7 separate regions of the Homo sapiens genome follow, and all the other regions are linked to region 3. Evidence: promoter capture Hi-C in 16 types of primary human blood cells and fetal thymus (Javierre and others, 2016). All regions are on one chromosome and are shown on one strand. Each heading gives the region's core, a stretch centred on a gene start or on the middle of the fragment in contact. The rest is flanking DNA. Distances are from core to core; before and after follow the strand shown.

Region 1 (2,959 bases), core at 155-2,654, 1.4 Mb after region 3:
AAGTAAAAGAAACTGAACCAAATGGGTAGTGAGGGAAGAGCACCTAAGCACAACTGCTTATCATAAAGCAAAGGTCAGAAATTGACAAACCCAGCCCACATTCATGGAGCTTCCAAGCAGCTTCTCTGCCTCGTTTCAAATGCACAGCCAACCAAGGATCACCACACATTTGAAGAAACTAGAAACATAAAGAAGAAAGATGATTCAAGGAAGAGAAAGATAACTTTAAATATGCTTTTAACTAGTATTCTCATAGAGATTCAAGAAGCTATCACAACCATAAACCAAGAACAATTTGTCATGAAAAGGTACAGGCAGAGAACAAGAATGTATGTACTATTGACAAAAGCATAATTACCAGAATAAGTAATTCAACAAAAAGAAAGGAAGAAAATAAGAGAACCTGGTACTTGGCACATAACAGACACTTAAAAAATTGTGGAATGAATATGTTTTTCATTTAGTCAATGAAACAAAAAATATATATAGACAGAGGGAAAAGTCTAAAAGCATACACACCAAAATGTAAGCAGCAACCATCTCTAACTGGTGAAATTACATATGTTTTTCGTGTTTGTCCTGTTCCTTATCTTCATTTTCTAACTTTTCTACAATGAATACAAATGACTTTTATAATGGGGAAACACATTTTTAAGACATTATCATTTTTTCATTATAAGACCAGAATCACAAGGCAAAAAAGAAATTTTTACTAAAATGCTTATCAAGTCCAAGTTAGAAAAAGTTTCAACTACTACCATTAATAATAAGATAGGTTTAGTAAGATATAGACATACTCATTGATCTTGACCTAATTAAGAGAATTTGAAAAGCTTGCAAAATAACAGGACACTGCAAACTTATTATTCGTAGCACAGATCAGGTAATTGGTTCCAATACTAGTAAATAAATCTCATGAATCAACCAGTTCTGTATATAAGAAGCCTCTCTTGGTTATTTTAATTAGTTACTTTCAGATTAAGTAGCTCTCATAATGAGAATGTACAGTGTCTTCATTAGACTTCAAAGTGTAAAATCAAATGATATACTCATTTGCATTAATTACCATTTATGTAACAGGTTATGCTTTTCAGAACTCTGTAGCAATACAAGTTAAATATGTAAAATACAGCATTCTTTTAAGTGATCTTCCATCAGGGTATGCCACATTTATTGCTCTAAAGATTTACCTTGATATGGAATAAAATTTAAAAGCCACTTAACGTATTCTGGGCAGCACTACCTATCACAGAGGCATGTAAACAACATTTTAATTTTTATAAAGTAATCCATCTTCATGAAAAGAAAAGATCAAAAGAATTTTCCCAAAAGTTTTATTTTACATTTGTCCCTGACTCGCTGATTACTTTCAGTTTTCTTTTGTATAAAGCATGCATTCTAGAAAAATCAACTATAATTATTTCAAACAATTTTTCACAGATTCACAAAGAGGATAAAGTTTTTTCCCCTTTTTTATCCAAGCCAGCATTTGCCACTTCCATAATCACACATAATGAATAAGAGTATGTGAGCAAATAATGAGTTAAGAAAGTATCACAGAATCGTAAAAAAAAAAAATATGAAAATCCAGTTAACACCTCATCTAACAGATAAGCTCTACTGCTGAGATGGGTCAAAGCAAATGTTCTTCCATCTGGTCAGCAGCACTACTCAATACTAAATATCAATATTCAATACTAAATATATCTTACTTATTTCCTATATAAAATTTAAAAATCCATCTATGAACACCCAATATCACACTCTTAAAATCAAAACAAGCAGTCATATTTCATATACAGTATCAAGTAATGCTCTTTATTAGCTCTTTAGTATCTCTTACTTAGTTGTCTGGTACTATACATAGTTTTGTTATATCTCTTACTACATCTTAAATTGTACTTCATTTTCCTGCTGAGAGTAGGAATTGTACTTTTACTTTCCTCTAGTGTCTTGTATTGTCTTTGAGACCTTCTAAAGCTTACAGTAGCTTAACAGTTATCTATTAAAGCAGTAAATATTGTCTGCAAATATATTTATTATCCCATTAAGTGAAAGGAGCAATGCAATTTGAATTACCATCACAAAGCAATTTGAAAAAAAAATAATAGAGTTTTTCTATTATTTATTTATAAGAGAACAGCCTATATCATATCCCATTATATGGAGGATCAGAAAGTAAGGAAAGAAAACAGCAGGTAAGAAGATGAAGGTATAATGTCTCGAGAAACCAAACATCCAACTCTTAATATTGATTATCCCAAGGGGTGGGATAAAAGTTCTCACAGGGAGAACTTTTTAATTTCTTTTTAATGTTTTATGAGGAAGACAGAAGACATTATCAGAAAAAATATATTTTAAGACAGAAAAATTCATCTATTAGCATAAAACAGTAAAAATAACTATCAAAATATTGAAAAAATAATGAGGACATGACCTGGCAAAAAGGATTCTGGGCTCTGGGGCCAGATCACTTGCATTCAAATCTCAGTCCTGCTACTTACAATAACTGTGTCTGTGACCTTGAAAAAGCTACTTATTCACAATGCTATCTTACAGCGTTGTGAGTATTAAATGAGATAAATGTTCTATGTAAAGTACTCAGAACAATGCCTAATACACATTAAGTGTTCAACAAGTATTACTTGTTATAACTGTTGCTATAGCCAAAATACAGAATGAACTTGTGCAACCACACTAGTATTCAAAAAAAACTGCTAATCAAAGCAATTTTAAAATTCATTTTCCTTTAATTTTTACATCAATAAAATCTTTTAAGAAAAAAATTCATTTTCCAATTGTCAACTTGGCTACATTACTTATATTAAGTGAAACTACCCCAAATTGCCAAGGATGTACACTCAAGCACTGCTGTTCGGAGTGTATCACTACAACCTCTAGCAAGGTATATCAAGGACTTCAAAGGTTTCCATACTATATCTAAGTAATACTATTTTTG
Region 2 (3,021 bases), core at 158-2,657, 1.4 Mb after region 3:
TCACACATTTATCACAATGTTCTCCCTATGATGAGATTAATGTCAGCTGGAATAACATCCGCTTTCACAAAAATACTAATAAAAGATTATCATTTTCTTGACATTTTAGAATGCAAGTTAACAGAGTTCTAAATTACCACTGCTATGGTATAATCACTGAGCTAATTTTAAAATATTAGTATATATGATCTAAATAGTAAAGCAGGTATGTTTACAAGTCTTGTACTTCAGGAAGAAGTTTAAATCTTGGCTTAATTACTTTACATGATATTCTAGACCCCATATTTCCCCAACGTGAGACTGCCAACTTGACATAACTGCAAGGTTGGCAACTTTCTCCTCAAAAGATACCCAGAAGTGACAAAACAGGAGAAATATGGGTCAAGATTAAGGCTTAACACAACATTAAAACCAAGGGTGTAGGTCAAGATTAAGGTTTAACACAACATTAAAACCGATCTTATTTCTTCATTGTTTTCATATTTTAGTTAAAACTACTTCTAGATGATTTATCTAGTATTTATGTAACAGTAATAAAAGTTCTTTTCATTAGGAATTTATATTAGGAATTAACAATAATCCTTTTTCCTTACATTCAACTGTATTACAGTTCTCTGCCACAGATACCAATGATCAGCAGAAATGACCACAGGCCAAGACCTGAGAGCAACAGATAAGAGCAATGTATGCTCTCCTGAATCCACTACGAAATGTCTGAAAGATATTTTCAAGTCATGGCATTCACTGCTTATATTTAAAGCTGATTTTCCTAGACTTCTGATTACAGAAAAACTGGAAAATGAGGCAGATCCAAATTTCACCTCTTCCCTCTTATCAAATTGAGAGACTAGCTCAAACATTAATCAGTAGCAGTAGAGTCAAAGACACGAAACAAATACTAGACAGTGAAAACAAGAATTTTCTATTACTTTAGGAAAATATGTGAGTCATCTAATTTTGACTCAACTGTCTGGTTATTGCATTGATTGTCTTGAACGAAATCTGACACCTTTAAAGTATTCTATTGCAAACATACTAACTTCAAGGAGCCAAGAAGATATGTCAATGCTTGTATTAAGTGTTGTAAAATAAGAGCAAATTTTATTTAAAAATTTAAAAATATTTATTACCCTTCCCAGCCACAGAATTGATGACACTTCTGCTGTACCTCTCCTAACTTTGGTTGTGTTGTTACTTGAGTTACACCTTTAACAGTAACACCTTCCAAGAAAATAGCGCCCTTTAAAAAAAAAATAAGAAAAATAAGGGAAAGAAAAATATTTTATTAGAGTTCAAATTCATTTACAAAGAAGAGACTGAGAGATAAATTAGTTTGTTCTCACAAATCTTAGCAAGTCAATATATCTAACAGAAACGGTCTGCTGTATAAACTCCCCTAAGATTGTACACTAGTTTTCCTAAATCCAGCACATGGTTTTCTTCAATATACGTATGTACTCTATAGGCACTTCTCAAATCATAACAGTAATAATAATTTATCTACCATTTATTGAGATCCAAGCAGAATGTCTGGCATCTTGCAAACATTCTCTCTAATCCTTACAACACTGAAAAAATAGACTGTACTGTATTTATTTCAAAGATGAGTAAATAAGGCACAAAGATTTTATGTAAATCAAGTGGTAAAAGACAGAATTTGAACAGGCCTACACTATACCAACCACCAATGGAGAGAAGGGGAAAGGAGCTGTGTTACTATGAATGAAGTATGGACTTTAAGGGGATAAACACCAAAACCTCTATCTTTGTAAACCAGAGTAAGAGTGTAGGCAAAGTGGCTAAGCCACAGTCATTGGATATATTAACATACTAATAGAACAAAATATTACTCATCATGGAATTTTTAATCTAAATTTTTTAACTCAGAACTACATATTTTGAAATATCACAGCGAAGTAAAGCAGACAGAGAATATCAAACAAATAAGGAACCCTTCTGGAAATTTTTAAACCTAAAAAAAATAGTCTAGATGTATGCTACAGTTCTTTTAAGGTCCATAAAGGGACTGGCATCAGTCTTAAGAAAAATCTATAAAACAATTCTAGCTGTTAATGTAATTAGGCAATAAAAAAGTTAGTCTACAAGCTACAACGTTCAACCTTCTGGCAAAGACCTGGCAATCTGAGCCACTTGAGAAAAGAAAAAAAGAACAATTAATACTTCATCCACATACATTCTTGTCAAATCTGGAAGAATCCTGAGTCCTTCCAGCAGACACTAGTCCTACTTTTTGTCCCTAATTTTGAAGCACTTTTTGTACTTATCTGTCTTCTACTTTGCTTTCCTTAAATAACCAAAATTTAGGAATTTCATAAGCCCAAGGATCAAAGAGTACCATCCCTCTACTATTATACCATTATTTCTCTGTACTAGCCAATGGCATTTCTGTTTAAAACCATTTTTATCATTAAGTACAACAGCTAAAGGAAAAAAAGAGTATTTTTAAAAGAAAGCTCAACCAGATAGATGAGGTTTGTAACATATTTACTTATTGAGTGCTCAGATAATTTCAATATCCTTAAAAAATTGTTTCTTATGCTAATTAAAAAAGAACACTTCTTTTTAGAGAGTTCAATATTAAGCATCCTAATTCTGATGGTATTAACAGCATGAGATGTTCTTTTTAAGTTTTACACAAAGAAAGTCTCTAGCTTCATTTATCAACGTGGATTTCCTATGCAAAGTTAAGAAATTTACATTAACTTCTGAAATGGGCAAAATAAAAGCAAAGGCCAAATTAACCTAAGTTACTACTAAAAACACAAACACTATTTATATTTTTAACATATAATAAAAAGGACTAACACATAGAAAATATGATCACATTCAACCAAGCACTTTCCCACAATATTACCACAGAAATATTTTAATAACATTTCTATGGGGTTGAAAAAGCTGAATATTTTTAATTTAACAGAGCCAATAAATACTGAGCATCAGTACAGATCTAACAACTACTGAGTCTGGTTATAAAAGTTAACCCCAATCACCTAGTAAATG
Region 3 (3,393 bases), core at 267-2,766:
ATAATATTTTTAATTTTTAAAATTAATTTCACGTACATATATGAATATTGTTTAAATGTATGCATAAGTACATACACAGTAGAGAACTGAATAATTCTACTAGTGGAAACTGTATCAATTACAATAAGGGAAGATTAGCACCAGTGAGCACACTTACTACCAGGTAGAGGAAAAGTCCAACACTATTGCAAAATGAGATTAATCAAATGTCTGCCTCTACAAAGTCAACTCTGGTCTCCTGGGAGCCCCTCCCAATATTAATATGATGCTAATAAGGCATGCAAAATGTTCCAACAATGTTAACAGACCAGATATATCTATATGTATATTTAACAAGACAATGGTATACAACCAACCCTCTAAAAGGACAATTTTGGGGAAAGAACATGCTGCAGAAGGTGTGGGCTGCTGGGCAGCTCAGAATCTTGCATCCCTATTCCTGTAAGTGCTGAGGTATTTTCATATTATTTTAAACCAATCCACATATCTTGAACATCATTTATTTCACCAATGAATTATTTCTAATATCAATTATGATAGCTAATTAACATCCCCTAGTGAAAGTGGAGATTATAGTGGTTAAAATGCCTGTTGATATATCTAATTTTTTTTGTTTTTTGAGACGAAGTCTCGCTGTGTCGCCCAGGCTGGAGTGCAGGGGCGCAATCTCGGCTCACTGCAATCTCCCGGGTTCAAGTGATTCTCCCGCTTCGGCCTCCTGAGTAGCTGGGATTACCGGTGCGCGCCACCACGCCCGGCTAATTTTTTGTATTTTTAGTAAAGACGGGGTTTCGCCATATTGGCCAGGCTGGTCTCGAACTCCTGACCTTAGGTGATCCATCTGCCTCGACTTCCCAAAGTGCTGGGATTACAGGCGTGAGCCACCACGCCCGGCCGATACATCTGATTTTTTAAAGGCCGTTTTGTTGTGCGAAGATCATTAGTTAGAATGCCTGGCTGGGTAAATACAACCGATGACTGCTGACGATATGGAACAGGCACAAGACTTCTGAACGATATGTAGAATAAATTATAACTTATCTAGAACACAAGGTAACAGTGGAAGATAATGAGCCAGGTGGAAGTTACAAATGTTGCCGCAAGTAGTTTCTGTTACTTTACGAGTTCTGGGAGCTTCTCTAACAGCTTTGACAGGAGTGAATCCCCAAGGCTAAACCCAAATCCTTATTTGCCGCCTACTCACGCCTTTGTGAGGACTACGATTCCCAGACGGCAACGCTCCCTTCACTCAACTTCCTTAGCTGGCGGGGAGACGCAGTTTACAGAACTACCTCCCCAACCGAATTTCACACACCTGTCACCTAGGACGCGGCCGGGAAGGCCTCCCTTCGATCCGCGTTCTCCCCATTTTGGGGTGTAGCTTGGATTCCTGAGCCCAGTTTTAGTGCGTGGCCGACCGGGAGGCCGGCGAGGCGCTCTAGGCCGAGCGGCTTCGTCTCTATGACCACAAGGGGCGGTCCCCGGTGTCCTGCGCGGGGGCGCGGAGGGGGCGGGCGTCAGTTCCGCGGGGGGCTGTCGGGGAACCATGGCTGCCCCGAGAGGTGAGAACTGGGTCTGCTGGGAGTGGGGAGTCCGCGGGGGGCGGCGGCGGGCGAGCATCTGCGCTGGTCAGCCCCTGTCGGGCAGCGGAGCACCCTGGTTGCCCAGTGCCTCTGGGGCCTGGCTGAGGCGTCAGGAGTTTGCGTGGAGCCGCTCCCGGCAGTCAGGGCAGCCTGCCTTCCGCTGCGGCTGCAGTCTCCGCGGCTGACTCCGCGCTGGGCAGGTCGGAGTCAGAGACCGCACTGACCTCCACTAGCTGGGAGTGGGTGGGAACCGAATTCTGACAGGCCGGGGCTGCGGCGGACCCGGAGAGAGGCCAGGGCGTGGGTCCGGGGCTGGACCGCATTACCCAGCGAGGCAGGACAGTTCTTCACCCTGGCCCCGCGGCTCCGGTCTCCTCTGCGCCTCCTACCCTGTGGATGCTCAGAGGCTTAAAGGCAGGCTCCGGGCGCAGATCCCATGCGGCGGCTGGGCCATGCAACAACCACTAAAGACATCACTGGGGCGTCAAAACAGCACTGAAATCGTAACGAAAGGAAGATAACAGTCGTTAACAGTTCCCACCTGTATGCTGTGTGTAATTATAGAGAATGCTGTATGCTGCTATTTGGGGTGGAAGCTGAGATCCACCTCCCTCCTCCTGAGGGATGGCACATTCGGGTGAAGGCGTATTTGTTGACTAATTGACATTTAAGGAGGGCGAGTCTAATTGACTCCGCACCACTTTTTGCTGAGCAGTGTGTGTAAGTTGGGACCAGAGGTGGATTCTTTGACTGTGGTGCATTAACCAGGAGAAGTTGGGCAACACCCGGATTCTTGCTCCACCCTTCCTCCATAGAGCACTTGGCTTCACCCTTGAATAAATATTGAACGAATACATAAGGAATATCTTCTTGCGTGGGTTTCAAGTTATTTTCCCTGTTGCGGGGTCCATGTTTCTCATCAGGCCCTGCCCAGGGGCATTGTCTTTAGTTGCATATGCTTCTCTTATGTCTTCTTTCTGTTTCATTTCAAATAAGTCCAATCTTAAAAGCCTTTTTTTGTAGCAACACAGGAAATAAAAGAAAAAGAAATAGAATTGTTTTGATAACTAAAATGGAATGGGGATAGCAAAATTGATCCGAACGAAAACTTATAAATTACAGAAGTCAAATCATTACTTGAAATAGCTGCAACAATGTAAAGGTTTAGGCTTATTGCCAATACATATTTGTTGAGCCTTGATTGTAATCCTAACAAAACTACAGTTTCCATAGTTTCCGAATATCCACAAAGGATTTATCTGGGACTTACAGAATTTCTAAGTTCTTAAGTATTACAAATAATGTCCCCATAAACTATAGTAAAACATAACCGAAAAAAAACATTTTAAACTGTAAGTTTCTTTTGGGGGACATTTCCACACAAACACTATATGGGAGCTAATAGAATTTCGTGAGAAGCAGGGAACAATGCAGGGTTAAGATGTGGCTGCCAGTTGAGTTGTGGGCTAGCTTTATAGTTACTGGCATTGGGTGTGATTTGAATTATTTGCCCAATTTGAAGTGATTACATATGGACTTTTGCTGTTACCCTGAAATAATTGAAATTGCTAATAACTGAAGTTTTATACTGGAGAATTTGTGAATGGAGTGAACAAGAAATAGTTTGGTCTGATGTTAAACTGCCAGAGAAAATCGTACTTAAAAACATTTAGTATTTAAAAGTTGAAATACGTTTAAAAACTGGTATTCCATGTCAAAGCCCAATCTGTTTTGCACATACCTAAACTTATTTGATTACCCTTCCACTTAGATCAGTAGTTATTTTCAAGAATATAATATATATTCCCAT
Region 4 (3,022 bases), core at 116-2,615, 1.3 Mb after region 3:
CTGTTTCAATTATAATAAGGAGGTACAGAATTAGTTTATCACCTATAATCAAAAGTTGTTATTAATGAGTTACCAACTGGGTTTGTTTCTCCCCCATTTAAAAGAGCTTATTAACCAAGTAGCTTCATAATAGGTGTTTTTTGCATTCTGTTTCTGTGTACTCAACTTTTTGAGATTCCACATGTAAGTGAAATCACACACCATTTCTCTTTCTGTGTCTGGCTGATCTTGCTTAGTACAATGCCCTCCAGCTCCATCCATGTTGTTATAAATGACAGGATCTTTTTTTCTAAGCCTGAATAATATTCTGTTGCATAAATATACCATAATTTCTTAATTCATTGACCCACTGAAGGACATTTAGGTGGTTTCCATATGCAGGCTGTTGGAAATAATGCTGTAATGAACATGGGGGCATACATTTCTCTATGAGGTACTAATTTCATTTCTTTTGGTATATACTCAGAGGAACTGCTGAGTCATATATTAGTTTTGTTTTTAATCGTTTGAGGAGCCTCCATACTGTTTTCCATAATGGTTGTACCAATTTACATTCCTACCAACAGTGGGACACCCTTACTCTCCACACCTTCACCAACTATTTTGTATGTTATCTTGTATTTTCGATAATAGCCATCTTAATATGCATGAGGTAATATCTCAATGACGTTTTAATTTTCATTTCTCTGTGACTGGTGATGTTGAGCACCTTTTCATACACCTTTTGACCTTTTTTTTTTTTTTTGAGACGGAGTTTCCCTCTCGTTGCCCAGGCTGGAGTGCAGTGGCGCAATCTCAGCTCACCGCAACCTCCGCCTCCCAGGTTCAAGTGATTCTCCTGCCTCAGCCTCCCAAGTAGCTGAGATTACAGGCATGTGCCAGCAGGCCCAGCTAATTTTGCATTTTTTTTTCTTCTTTTTTTTAGTAGAGATGGGGTTTCTCCATGTTGTTCAGGCTGGTCTCAAACTCCTGACCTCAGGTGATCTACCCACCTTGGCCTCCCAAAGTGTTGAGATTACAGGCATGAGCCACCATGCCCAGCCACCTGTTGACCACTTTCATGGCTTCTTTGGAAAAAAAAAAAAAAAAGTCTATTCAAGTCCTTGGATTATTTGTTTTTGTTTTGTTTTTTGCTACTGAGTTGTGAATTCCTTTAATATTATAGATATCCCCTTATCAGATATGTGCTTTGCAAATATTTTCTCCCAATCTGCCTTTTCATTTTGTTGATTGTTTCCTGTTGTGCAGAAGCTTTTTAGTTTCATGTAGTCCCAGTTGTGTATTATTGCTGTTGTTGGCTGAGCTTTTGATGTAACATCAAAAAGATCATTGCCAAGACCAACATCAAGGAGCTTTTCCACTATGTTTTCTTCTAGGAGTTTTACAGTTTCAAGTGTTACAGTTAGGCATTTGATCTATTTTAAGTGGATTTTTGTGTATGGTATAAGGGTCCAATTTCATTCTTTTGTATATGGATATTCAAGCTTCCCCAACATCATTTACTGAAAAGATTATCTTCTCCCCATTGTGTATTCTTGGTGCCCATGTCAAAAATTTGAACATACATGCTTGGGTTTATTTCTGGGCCCTCTATTCTGGTCCACTGGTCTATGTGTATGTTTCTATTTCAGTACTACACCATTTTAATTACTGGAGCTTAGTAATATAACTTGAAACCAGGAAGTGTGATGCTTCCAACTTTGTTCTTCTTTCTCAAAATTGCTTTGGCTTTTTCAGGGTTTTTAGTCCCCTACAAATTTTAGAATTGTTTTTCTCTAGTTCTGTAAAAAATGTCATTGGTATTTGGATAGGGATTGCACCAAATCTGTGTATCACTTTGGGTAGTATGGACATCTTAACAATGTAAATCTTCCAATTCATTAACATGGAATATCTTTCTATTTATGTGTATCATCTTCAATTTCTTCCATCTTGGTTAAATTTATTCCTAGGTATTTTATTCTTTTTGATGCTATTGTAAATGAGATTGTTTTCTTCATTCTCTTTTCAGATAGGCTGTTATCGATTGGTGTAAAGAAATGTAACTGATTTCTGTATGTTAACTTTGCATCCCACAACTTTATTGAATTAACAGGTTTTTTTGATGTAACAGTCTTTTTCTACATATAGGATCATGTCATCTGCAAACAGAGATAATTCTACTACTTGTTTTCCATTTTAGATGCCTGTTGTTTCTTTTTCTTGTCTGATTGCTCTTACTAGTAGCTCCAGTATTATGTTGAATAGAAGCACCAAGATGGGGAATCCTTGCCTTGTACCGGATTTTACAGGAAAAGCTTTTAGTTCTTCCCCATTAATTGTGATGCTAGCTGTGGCCTTTTCATAAATGGCCTTTGTGTTGAGAAAATTTTCTTCTATACCTATTTTATTGGAAGTTTTTGTCCCAAAAGATGTTGAACTTTGCCAAATGCTTTGTATGAATCTGTGGAGATGATCATGTGGTTTTAGCTTTTATTCTGTTACTGTGGTATATCATATTGATTGATCTGCATATGTTTATACCAACCTTGTAACCCAGGGATAAATCTCACTTGGGGATTTTAAATGTATTCTGAGTACAAAGTAAAAAAAGAAAAGGTATTACCTGAGTGTCTTAAAATTGATTATAGAGGAATGAACATTGTAAGCCTTGAAGGATGGGTAATATTCACTCATGCAGATTTGCAGCATGAAGTAAATATGGGCAAAAAAACAGGAGTAGAGAAATATAGGATGTGCTAAAGGAGAGGCAAGTCTCCCAATTCAGTGTGTGCATTATGGAGGGTGGGGCCATATTATAAGAAAAATACTTAGGAAGGAAAAATTGCTAAGTGTCCAATACTAGTATTTTTAAATTATCCAAGTCAAATTGCATTCTAACAAATTTTTAATTTAATTTTTAAAATTAGATATGGAGTCTTGCTATCTTGCCCAAGCTAGAATGCAGTGGCTATTCACAGGTGCAGTCACAGCACTGCAGCCTTGAACTCCTGAGTTTAAGCAATTCTCCCACCACAGCCTC
Region 5 (3,233 bases), core at 273-2,772, 1.4 Mb after region 3:
GACTCAGGTTTCACTAGGAAAAATAAATTCAGCCTCAGTCTGGACTGACTGTGTATCTGAAAGACTCCTAGACCAAATGCCAGGCCAGCTGGCACACAGACAACAGGAATACTTAGTTCGCAAGACCCTCTGGCACATGCTTTTCAAAAGCAGCAATTCCTGGTGGATAGAGAGAATCTAAGCTACTTGGAAGAAGTAAGCTTTGCCTTGGATTATGTTTCAAAAGGAATTTAAATCAACAAAAGGGAAGATCAAATAAAAAGCAATGATGACATCATCTGCAAAAATGGCATGGAAGACACACAACCCATCATGTTGTTAAGGACTTAGGCTGGCATTTTGCAAAGCTGATATTCACCAAAAGGGTATTTCAAGGCAAATAAGTTAGGAAACCACTGTATCTTTCTCTTAGAACGTCAAGATATATATTAGGATATTTAAAGTTATGATAAAATATATAAATAAATCTGTTCATCTTATTTAGTCCATTGTTTCCTAAACTTAATCCTGATATCTGTTAAAATTTGACAGAATTGGTATTCTATACTTACAATTTGAGAAAAGCTGACTTAAGCTAATAAATGTTAGAATTCAGAAAAAAGAAATGGTTTACTCTTATGATCATGTAATAATGATAACTGAAATTATATTTCCCCTTTCACTGACTGCCCAGAAGTTGAGAATTTTAAATTTAATGTTTAAACACAATAGGTATTATCCCAGGGTGAAGATGTATTTATTTTACACACACACACACACACACATCTTAGTATCAGACCTTTTCTTTTAAATCAAGTAGAGTATCAATCAAAAGAAAATATTTTCTATGCACACATGTGTATAAACAGATTTAAAAGACTAAGGAAGAAAAAGCTTTAGAGGACGGGATTTACAAAAGGATAGCTTCTGCATCTGCAGAAACACCAGAGAAATTATTTAGCACTTGGTATTTAGGGATTCTTCTGCACACATAAATTTTCAGGCTTTGGAACACAAGTTCCTGAGCTATGATTTTTAGTTTGAACTCCAGTCATTCCAAATCATATGTTCTTTTGTTATGCGATACTAACAAAAAGTAAGGAGCTATTTCATGTAAGGAATGTGGAAATATTTCCACATCACTCCAAAGTCCCTGAAAGCAGCCAGATTCTTTAAAAAGAAGCAACTACCTCACAAACTGTCAGATACTGCCTTAGTATATAACTATGATGCAATATAATTTCTTATTAATTAGGAAATTATCTCAACTGCAAATTTAATATTCAGAATTATCAATAGGTATTTGTATTATATTCATTCATTCCCATTAAAAGGCAAAATTTAATTCAGTATACGTTTCCCAGATAGAAAATGCTAAAGTATATAAACCAAAGGTATATGGATTACAGAAAAGCCAGATGTATAGACTACTTTACTGTAAATGCAGGTTTTCTACCAAAACTGGAAATAATCTTTCAGAGCAGTTGCTGAGATGTGAGATATATAATTAAGTAAAACAACCAAATATACATTAATAAAATTAGGAAGTACATAATTAAAGAGAAGGAAAACTGACAGAAAACAATGGTAACTAATACCACCTTAGAGTCCTAATTCACATTCCTCCCAGTAGTCTGAGAGTAAAATGGTCGTTAAACTCCTGGTAATTTAAAGTTATCACCAATTTAGACCCAACTCTGATCATCAATTCAGGAATTTATCTTATACTCTATGAAGGCAGAAATCCTATCTATTTTGTTCCTTCTCACAGCTTAAGTATCTTGCACAGTCTACCTGAATACACACTAAAGGAAGGCACTCAATATTTGTTAAGCAAAGCTGTATGTACAACAAAGTTCATCATAATATTTTATAACAGTGAAAGGATAAAAACTCAAATGTCCATCATTCAGCAAATAGGTAAAATAAATATTGCATATTCATGTAAAAGCATACTAGTCAAGCATTTTTTAAACAATGATAAAAATATTCATTAATATGGAAAGAGATTTACAATATATTTAGTGGGAAAAAAGCAAGTTTAAAACCAGAATACATTAAATAATTACAGAGGAAAGGAGGAGGACAAAACTGTATGTATATCGTAAATATAGAGTAAAGCCTATACCAAAATAGTAAGAGCTGCCCCATCTCTATGTATTAGAATTATCAATGATATTTGCTTTCCTCATTAAGCTTTTCTGTACTTTCAAAATTTTTAGAAATAAACACAAATTGCTTTTAGACACAGGGGGCAAAATTAAAGCTTTACAAGGGGGAAAAAAGCCACCAAGCCAGAAATGTAGTCTATAATCAGACCCAGAGAAACATTTTCCCTTTGCAAAGTGGCAATGAATTAAGACAGGATTCTAACCCTTGTTCTTTGTACCACAGTGGCTTCAAAACAACAGATATTCCTCTTCTTCTGTCATACAGCCTCCATACTAGAGCATTTTGATGGGCAATAAAAACAGAAAAGCTGATCATTTACATTGATTTATTTCACCACCATCTCTATCTCTATCCATTTTTCCTAGCCCCTATCAAACTTATTATGGCTTTTCTCTTAAATTTTTTAATCAATTATTTTTTAAAATATAAGTTAAAGGGCCGACCTGGAGCCAGTCTAGATGCTAGGCAGTACTAGATGCTAGGGTTATAACAGCAAATGGCACAGACTCTCTTCTCAACTTCACATCATTTACACTCTTAAAAAGAAAACAAGATATTAAATAATTCCAACCATAATACATATTAGAACAGTGAAGAAGAAGCTATTACAGGAGCCTACAAAGGTAGAGCCTGTCAGAGTTTGGAGATCATGGAAGGCATTCCAGAGGAATTCATGCATAGCTGATAATAACAACAGGTTACACTTACTGAGCAATTACTATGTTCTGAAGAAAAGAGCACTTTTATTAACTCATTTATTAACTCATTTAATCCTTACAACAACCTCACCAGGTCAGTAAAATTATTATCCCCATTTTCCAGATGAGGAAACTGAGACATTGCCCAATGTCATAACGCTGACACAACGGCAACGCTGATATTAAAATTTAGACAATAGTTTGTTTGTACACCCTCTACAGTATACTAACCCTCACATTCAATATGTAGGAGTCAACCCAGCACAGGTTGTAATGTGAGAGAAGAAGAGAAATGAGGGATGGGAGGGTTGGAGTACACAGACTAGTAGGTGCAATGTCCTTCAGACAAGATAGAATGCAGCAATGTTCTGGTAACTAAAAAAG
Region 6 (2,995 bases), core at 131-2,630, 1.4 Mb after region 3:
ATAAACACATTTTTGTATTCATGTATCTTAACCCAACATGTAAATTTCCTTACTATCTTCTATTTCAGACCAATTCAAGCAACAAATATTTCAACTTTCGATGTTTCTCACCTAAGCTACTGTTTTTGTATCCAATTTTTACTCTTGCAAGATTAAATATTTTTATGAATAGGAAATGTAATAATAATTGCCAATTAGCTAATATGTCATGTGAAGATATGTAATCTAGGAAAGTACCATTTTCCTTTTAATATTCTTTATATGCAAATACAAAAAGTCTTAGTCTAATGGTTCAGTTATACATCAAAACATTTATAGATAGGGTTATAAAGTTACAAAACCATCAAAACAAACCACTATAGAAAAATGTGGGAGATTATGTATTTGATATTAAAAAATCCATTAATTAGGTATACTACAAGCTTAGATACGTCTTCAGTTTTTGTTTAAAGCAATTTTCAGTTTTCTTCATCATGAGAATGGGTCCATCTAGTGGTAAGTAAGCCACAGTTTTTAACTAAATATTAGCTCACAATTAACTATTTCAAGGCAACTTCTATTCAAATTTTTCCAGGCAAGCTAATATAATGAAATAAATGTATATGGCATTTACAATCAAACTAGGGAAAGAAACTCCCCAACAAATAGACAGAGAGATTAGCTATAGCTATACATGTTGGGGCAGTTTATAAAGGGGCTGGTGACAATGTATCTTTTTAAATAAAGCCTGATCTCAACATACACTATTTTGGAGGGTGTGGGGGGTATAGACAGGGTCTCTCTATGTTGCCAAGGCTGGTCTTGAACTCCTGGGCTCAAGAGATCCTTGGCCTTGGTCTTCTGGGATTGTAGGCATGAGCCACCACACCTGGCCCACAATTTTATTTCTATCTCACTAGCTAGATAAATTTTTTAATGCTAAAAATCCTAATTATTTGATCAGTCTAATTAGGTCAGTAGTTCTTTTTTTTTTTTTTTTTTTTTTTTTTGAGACGGAGTTTTGTTCTTTTTGCCCAGGCTGGAGTGCAATGGAGCAATCTCGGCTCACTACAACCTCTACCTCAGCCTCCTGAGTACCTGGGATTACAGGCATGCGCCACCACGCCTGGCTAATTTTGTATTTTTAGTAGAGACAGGGTTTCACCATGGTGGTCAGGCTGGTCTCAAACTCTGACCTCAGGTGATCCACCCGCCTCGGCCTCCCAAAGTGTTGGGATTACAGGCGTGAGCCACTGCACCGAGGATTCAGTAGTTCTCAACTGGGGAAGATTTTGCCCCCCAGGGGACATTTTGTAATGTCTAGAGACAATTTTAATTGTTACAATTTGTGGGATGAAGTTGAAGTCCAGCCTGAACAACATAGCCAGACCTGGTCTCTAAAAAATTATTTAATATAATACAATAAAGGCAAAAAAAATTAATGCAGTTGTTCCTCAGACTCCTCAGGGGATTGGTTCTGGGATCCCCCTCAGATACCAAAATCCTCCGATGCTCAGTGCTCAAGTGCCTTGTATAAAATGGCATAGTATTTGCATATGACCTATGAACATCCTGCCGTTTTCTTTGAATCACCTCTAGGTATTACTTATAATACCTAATGCAATGTAAGTGCTATGTGAACAGTTACTATACTGTATTTGTTGTTTTGAAAAAAGCAGGTTATTTATATGGTACAGTATGCAGCTATTATTTAACAGAACAATATTATGAGATATACATGAAATATGTTAAGGATGTGTGTATATATATTCATACATTTATATGAATATATATAACAGTCACACATACATACACATATATTGAGGTATATGACTAGAACCTACACAGCTTAAGGTAATACTGAGGCCTTTATCTGAATAAGTAAAAACAACTCACAGAAGTGTTTTCTCATTTGAGAGAAGCCATTATAGGGGTAAACATTAAATATGCTTAATGAATTCAAAGGAGGGCAGTCAAGCAATTTTAACCTCTGGCATTAGATGTCATGATTTTAGAAAGATTCATACTCCAGGTTTAGGAAAACAAATTCATCCTTGTTATAAATTGTGCAGTTGTATTCTTAGAAGAACTGATAAGAAAAACTTCTAATTGTTTTGAGTGTTTACAGGTTATAAAATTTATAGAACCTAGTGATATATATATATTTTGTTTTATATTCCCGGCAGTGATTCTGTTCATGTGGATTGAATTGGAAACATTTGCTTTGGGCCTGCCAAATTTTGGAGCACAGGATGTATTGCCAGTTATTTCTTATAGTATTACTGTAGAGACAATAACAGAAACTAGTCTCAGAACTGATTGCTGATAACACCTTTCTAAATAAAAAGCACTAAAGAATCAAGCTTAAGTAGTCTTAGGATCTGAAAATACTGTCCTGCTTTTATAGTACTTTCATTTATTTTTAGTTTCAGAGAAGGAATTTTTATCAGCCTTGCACAAACTCTTGCTGATCAATATTTGTGACCAGTAGTAAACATTTGTGATGTGGCAAAGGTTAGACTCAGGTTTCTTTTCAAAGCTGTCTTGGTTTTAAAAAAAAATCCCAGCCTGGGTGACATAGTGAGACCTGGTCTTTAAAAAAAAAAAAAGTAATCTTTGAATTAGCTGATATAATTGTTAATTTATCAATTACAGTTGACAACTGATTCAGTTATCAGTTGATAATTGGTGAGGCTGTGGGCTAATGCTGTAGGCTTCATGGAAATATAAAGTTCTTGAAACACACAGAAGCTTGAAACCTTTTCTAATCCTTAGCAGTAACTACAGCTTCATAGTCCCTTATCTGAAACCCTTAGAACCAGATGTTTTCAATTTTTACCATACTGTTAGCTTCTCTGGGGCAGTACTCTCAAATTTTTTTTTTATTATGGAAATTTGCAGACATACCCAAAGCAGTGAGAATAGAAAAATGAAACCTCATGTATCCATCATCCCTCTTTGGTAATTATCATTTTGCTGATTTTTTTTCATCCTCCACCCTTAATAATATTTTTGG
Region 7 (3,242 bases), core at 347-2,846, 1.5 Mb after region 3:
GTGAGTACTTACGAGGATCTATGAAGCTTCTGAAATTAATTCCAGAACACTTAGAGTTTTGTTTGTACATTTCTGGATCAAAGTTTCAAAGCATACTGGGGAGTTTGAGAGGGTCCATGTCTCCAAAAAAAGTTACTAATTAATGTGGTATAATTGACAAAGGTAGGAATTGATCAGTGGAGAACCTCTTCGTGGCGTTGTTCTCCTTGGCCTACCAAATAAACAGTGCCTTTTATTTTCCCTTCGAGTTAAGCAGAGGTGCTTGAAAAATTTTTATAAATGCCGTCCTTTAACGAGCCTTTCCTTTGTTACCAGATTAAAGTGTTAAATATAAAGCTGGATGATGGCGAATCAATTATAATGTAGTTTGGCTTTAAACACCAATGCTATATTGGAACTGCAAGAACGTAAGGCTGCAGGGAATACATTTTTAAAGCGTCGGTGGGGAACTTTCTGGGACGCTCAACCCCCTGAATGCCTGGACCCCCTCAGTAAGAGTCCCATCAATAGAGGCAGTCCAACAGCAATCTCTCTGAGGCAGCCTGAGTTAGGTCACACTTCTGGTCTGTCCTGCTGTTGCATCTGCTCAGAACTGTTAGTGAAGGTGTAAACTCCTCCCCTGACAGAACAAGATAATACCCAGTTTCCTTTAAGGCCATCAGTCTACCCAAATAATCTCCGATGAATTCCCTTTTCTGCTGATAGAGTGTGTACCATGCCCAAAGTGGTAAAAACCTTCCATCCCCAGACCCCCTCCAAGGATGGGAAAGGTGAGCCTGATCCTGGAAGAGTATCTTACCTTCCCCTTCTGGGGATGACTCCCCTTGGTGACTCCCCTTCCCACACACGCTATACCCAGTAGCTCAGTCCTAGGCACACAGAAGCTTCATACCACTGGCGAGCAACTGTTATTGGCTGTAAGGCAGCAATGTGCACTGGATTTTTATTCTGCTATCCAGTTATGCCCTCTCCATACTCATTGCCACAGAATTGGGAGGACCCTGTGGCTACCTTTTGTCCACAATAGAGAGTAGAGTAGGAGAGTGGCATCCCGATGAGCAGGCAGTTTCTCTCTGCCTGTCAGGAATGCCTTGCCTGATGTGTGTTTCTGCCTATATTGCTCCTAGTCCCAAGTTTCTACTACTCTGTGAGAAGAAAAATAGATGCTCACAGACAGACCAACATGATTCCTCCCCCGCTTCCTGGAACCCCTGACACCCTCCCAGATATGTCTTGATCTCCTCTTTATCAGATGTAGATTCTCTTCATTGGTGAGTCTTTCATCAAACATCCATTTTGCCCATAAGGAAGAGTGTGTACATGTAAAAAATAAGATTGAACGTTCTCTTTTGGCAAAAGAGAGAGATCTTATCTGTCTTCCCTTTTCCTAGGACTTTTCCTTGAGAAAAACCTATATTTATTAATCCTTCCTCTTCACTTTGATATGTAGATAAATCTTTTGTTTTTGCAGACAGGGTCTCACTTTCTCACCCAGGCTAGAGTGCAGTGGGCATGATCAGGGCAGCCTTACTGGAGCCTCAACCTCCCAAGCTCAAGCAATCCTCTCACCTCAGCCCCCAAGGAGCTGGGACTACAGGTGCAGGCCCCCACACCCCACTAACTTTTTTATACTTTTTTCGTCTGGAACTCCTGCAAGCAGCCCTCCCACCTCAGCCTCCCAAAGTGCTGGTAAGACAGCCAGGTGGGAAGGATTCCTTGGCAGAATCTCCTTTTGACCTGAGCACTGGGAGGAATGCACCCTGTGGTGGAGCCTTGGGAAATTTGCGCCATTTGCAGTGGGGAGGAGCCTGGCCCCTCCTTTTCCTAGGTGGAACCTGGGATTCAGTCTACCAGGCAGGAAGCACTCTGGCTTTGGGGAGAGTCTCTGTTTCCCTTTTTTTCTTTTTGCCCAATAAATTCCATTCTCACCCTTCAAGGCATCTGTGAGCCTAATATTTCATGGCCATGTGACCAGGACCCAGCTCTTAGCTGAACTAAGGAGAAAGTCGTACAACAGCTTTGGCACCCAATGTGGGGCTTGAGAAGCGGTTGAGTGACACGGGGACTCAAAACTTTTCACTGTCATTTCTAAGCCTTTTCATGCGTGGACTTCTGAGGGTAGGGAAACCATGCCCCCACTCCCATCGCTCCCTGGGGTCAGGGGCCTTTCCATGGCCTTTGCCTTCGTTTTTTGGGAAGGATAGGCAAGTCGCAGCTCCTCATTCCCTCTCCCCTCCCAGCTGGGGCTGGGGAATGCCACATGTCCACAGCATCTTCCCCTTCCCTGGCCAAGGCTCAACTCCATCTGATAAGCTTCTCTCCCTGGTAGAGGAACCATTTGCCTAAGAATAAAAGGTTTATTCCCCCAGGCATCCTTTTTTCTTCACCCCATCAACAGTTAACTTTTAAACCAGATGTTTTTTTTCTTTTTCACTAGGCTAGGAATGATAAGGATCCCTGTTTATATTCTCCTTAAAGTTTGGTTGTGAAAAAGGATCTTATGGGGACTGGTTTTCTTCTGCCTGTCTGTGTAGCTATATATATGTTGTGTACATGATGTCTATGAAAAGAGCTCAAAGGCCAGGCACGGTGGCTCACACCTGTAATCCCAGCACATTGGGAGGCTGAGTCAGGCAGATCACCTGAGGTCGAGAGTTCAAGACCAGCCTGACCAACTTGGAGAAACCCCATCTCTACTAAAAATACAGAATTAGCCAGGCATGGTGGCACATGCCTGTAATCCCAGCTACTTGGGAGGCTGAGGCAGGAGAATCACTTAAACCTGGGAGGTGGAGATTGCACTCCAGCGTGGGCAGCAGGAGCAAAACTCCATCTCAAAAAAAAAAAAAAAAAAGGAGCTCTAAGGCCAGGTGTGGTGGCTCATGCCTGTAATCCCAGCACTTTGGGAGGCCAAGGCAGGCAGATCATTTGAGAGTCAAGAGATTGAGACCAGCTTGGCCAACATGGTGAAACCCTGTCTCTACTAAAAATACAAAAATTAGCCAGGTGTGGTGACGTGCCTGTAGTCCCAGCTATTTGGGAGGCTGAGGCAGGAGAATCCCTTGAACCCAGGAGGCAGAGGTTGCATTGAGCTGAGATTGTACCACTGCACTCCAGCCTGGCCAACAGAACAAGACTCTGTCTCAAAAAAAAAAAAAAAAAAAAAAAAAAACTCTAATTGGCCTAAAGGAAGACAAGTGCTTAGATCATATATTTTTTAAAGGGAAGGTAAAAGATGTGGT

The links. Contacts are between HindIII fragments. The CHiCAGO score rates a contact against its expected background, and 5 or more counts as called.
Region 1: a fragment that was not itself captured here is called in contact with the fragment with the promoter of SLC35A1 in region 3 in 6 of 17 cell types (total CD8 T cells, monocytes, erythroblasts and 3 more); the score reaches 9.9 in total CD8 T cells.
Region 2: a contact is called between a fragment that was not itself captured here and the fragment with the promoter of SLC35A1 in region 3, in 2 of 17 cell types (total CD4 T cells and non-activated CD4 T cells). The highest score is 5.4, in total CD4 T cells.
Region 4: a fragment that was not itself captured here is called in contact with the fragment with the promoter of SLC35A1 in region 3 in 1 of 17 cell types (fetal thymus); the score reaches 5.0 in fetal thymus.
Region 5: a contact is called between a fragment that was not itself captured here and the fragment with the promoter of SLC35A1 in region 3, in 6 of 17 cell types (total B cells, activated CD4 T cells, erythroblasts and 3 more). The highest score is 8.9, in total B cells.
Region 6: a fragment that was not itself captured here is called in contact with the fragment with the promoter of SLC35A1 in region 3 in 3 of 17 cell types (naive B cells, naive CD8 T cells and total B cells); the score reaches 6.6 in naive B cells.
Region 7: a contact is called between a fragment that was not itself captured here and the fragment with the promoter of SLC35A1 in region 3, in 1 of 17 cell types (non-activated CD4 T cells). The highest score is 6.5, in non-activated CD4 T cells.

What each region holds. Positions count from the first base shown.
Region 1 is chr6:88,873,092-88,876,050 of GRCh38, forward strand. All of the region lies in intron 8 of RNGTT (RNA guanylyltransferase and 5'-phosphatase), which reads right to left. Among named protein-coding and RNA genes, the nearest start is that of RNGTT, 89 kb to the right of the region's middle. The HindIII fragment of the contact is 1,147 bases long and covers 832-1,978 here.
Region 2 is chr6:88,890,676-88,893,696 of GRCh38, forward strand. It overlaps RNGTT (RNA guanylyltransferase and 5'-phosphatase), which reads right to left. Exons shown (of 16, transcript NM_003800.5): 7 at 1,131-1,240. Among named protein-coding and RNA genes, the nearest start is that of RNGTT, 71 kb to the right of the region's middle. The HindIII fragment of the contact is 4,119 bases long and covers 1-3,021 here.
Region 3 is chr6:87,471,458-87,474,850 of GRCh38, forward strand. SLC35A1 (solute carrier family 35 member A1) reads left to right here and starts at 1,517. Exons shown (of 8, transcript NM_006416.5): 1 at 1,517-1,562. The coding sequence starts at 1,547. LOC124901357 (a long non-coding RNA gene) reads right to left here and starts at 1,488. Exons shown (of 2, transcript XR_007059668.1): 1 at 1,316-1,488; 2 at 1-1,041. RefSeq lists enhancers at 1,164-2,070, 2,066-2,235, 2,286-2,385 and a silencer at 1,476-1,615. The HindIII fragment of the contact is 12,962 bases long and covers 1-3,393 here.
Region 4 is chr6:88,775,592-88,778,613 of GRCh38, forward strand. All of the region lies in intron 12 of RNGTT (RNA guanylyltransferase and 5'-phosphatase), which reads right to left. Among named protein-coding and RNA genes, the nearest start is that of RNGTT, 190 kb to the right of the region's middle. The HindIII fragment of the contact is 233 bases long and covers 1,250-1,482 here.
Region 5 is chr6:88,855,675-88,858,907 of GRCh38, forward strand. All of the region lies in intron 8 of RNGTT (RNA guanylyltransferase and 5'-phosphatase), which reads right to left. Among named protein-coding and RNA genes, the nearest start is that of RNGTT, 110 kb to the right of the region's middle. The HindIII fragment of the contact is 1,302 bases long and covers 872-2,173 here.
Region 6 is chr6:88,918,745-88,921,739 of GRCh38, forward strand. All of the region lies in intron 4 of RNGTT (RNA guanylyltransferase and 5'-phosphatase), which reads right to left. Among named protein-coding and RNA genes, the nearest start is that of RNGTT, 43 kb to the right of the region's middle. The HindIII fragment of the contact is 1,920 bases long and covers 421-2,340 here.
Region 7 is chr6:88,964,131-88,967,372 of GRCh38, forward strand. No RefSeq gene overlaps it. Among named protein-coding and RNA genes, the nearest start is that of RNGTT, 2.1 kb to the left of the region's middle. The HindIII fragment of the contact is 1,429 bases long and covers 883-2,311 here.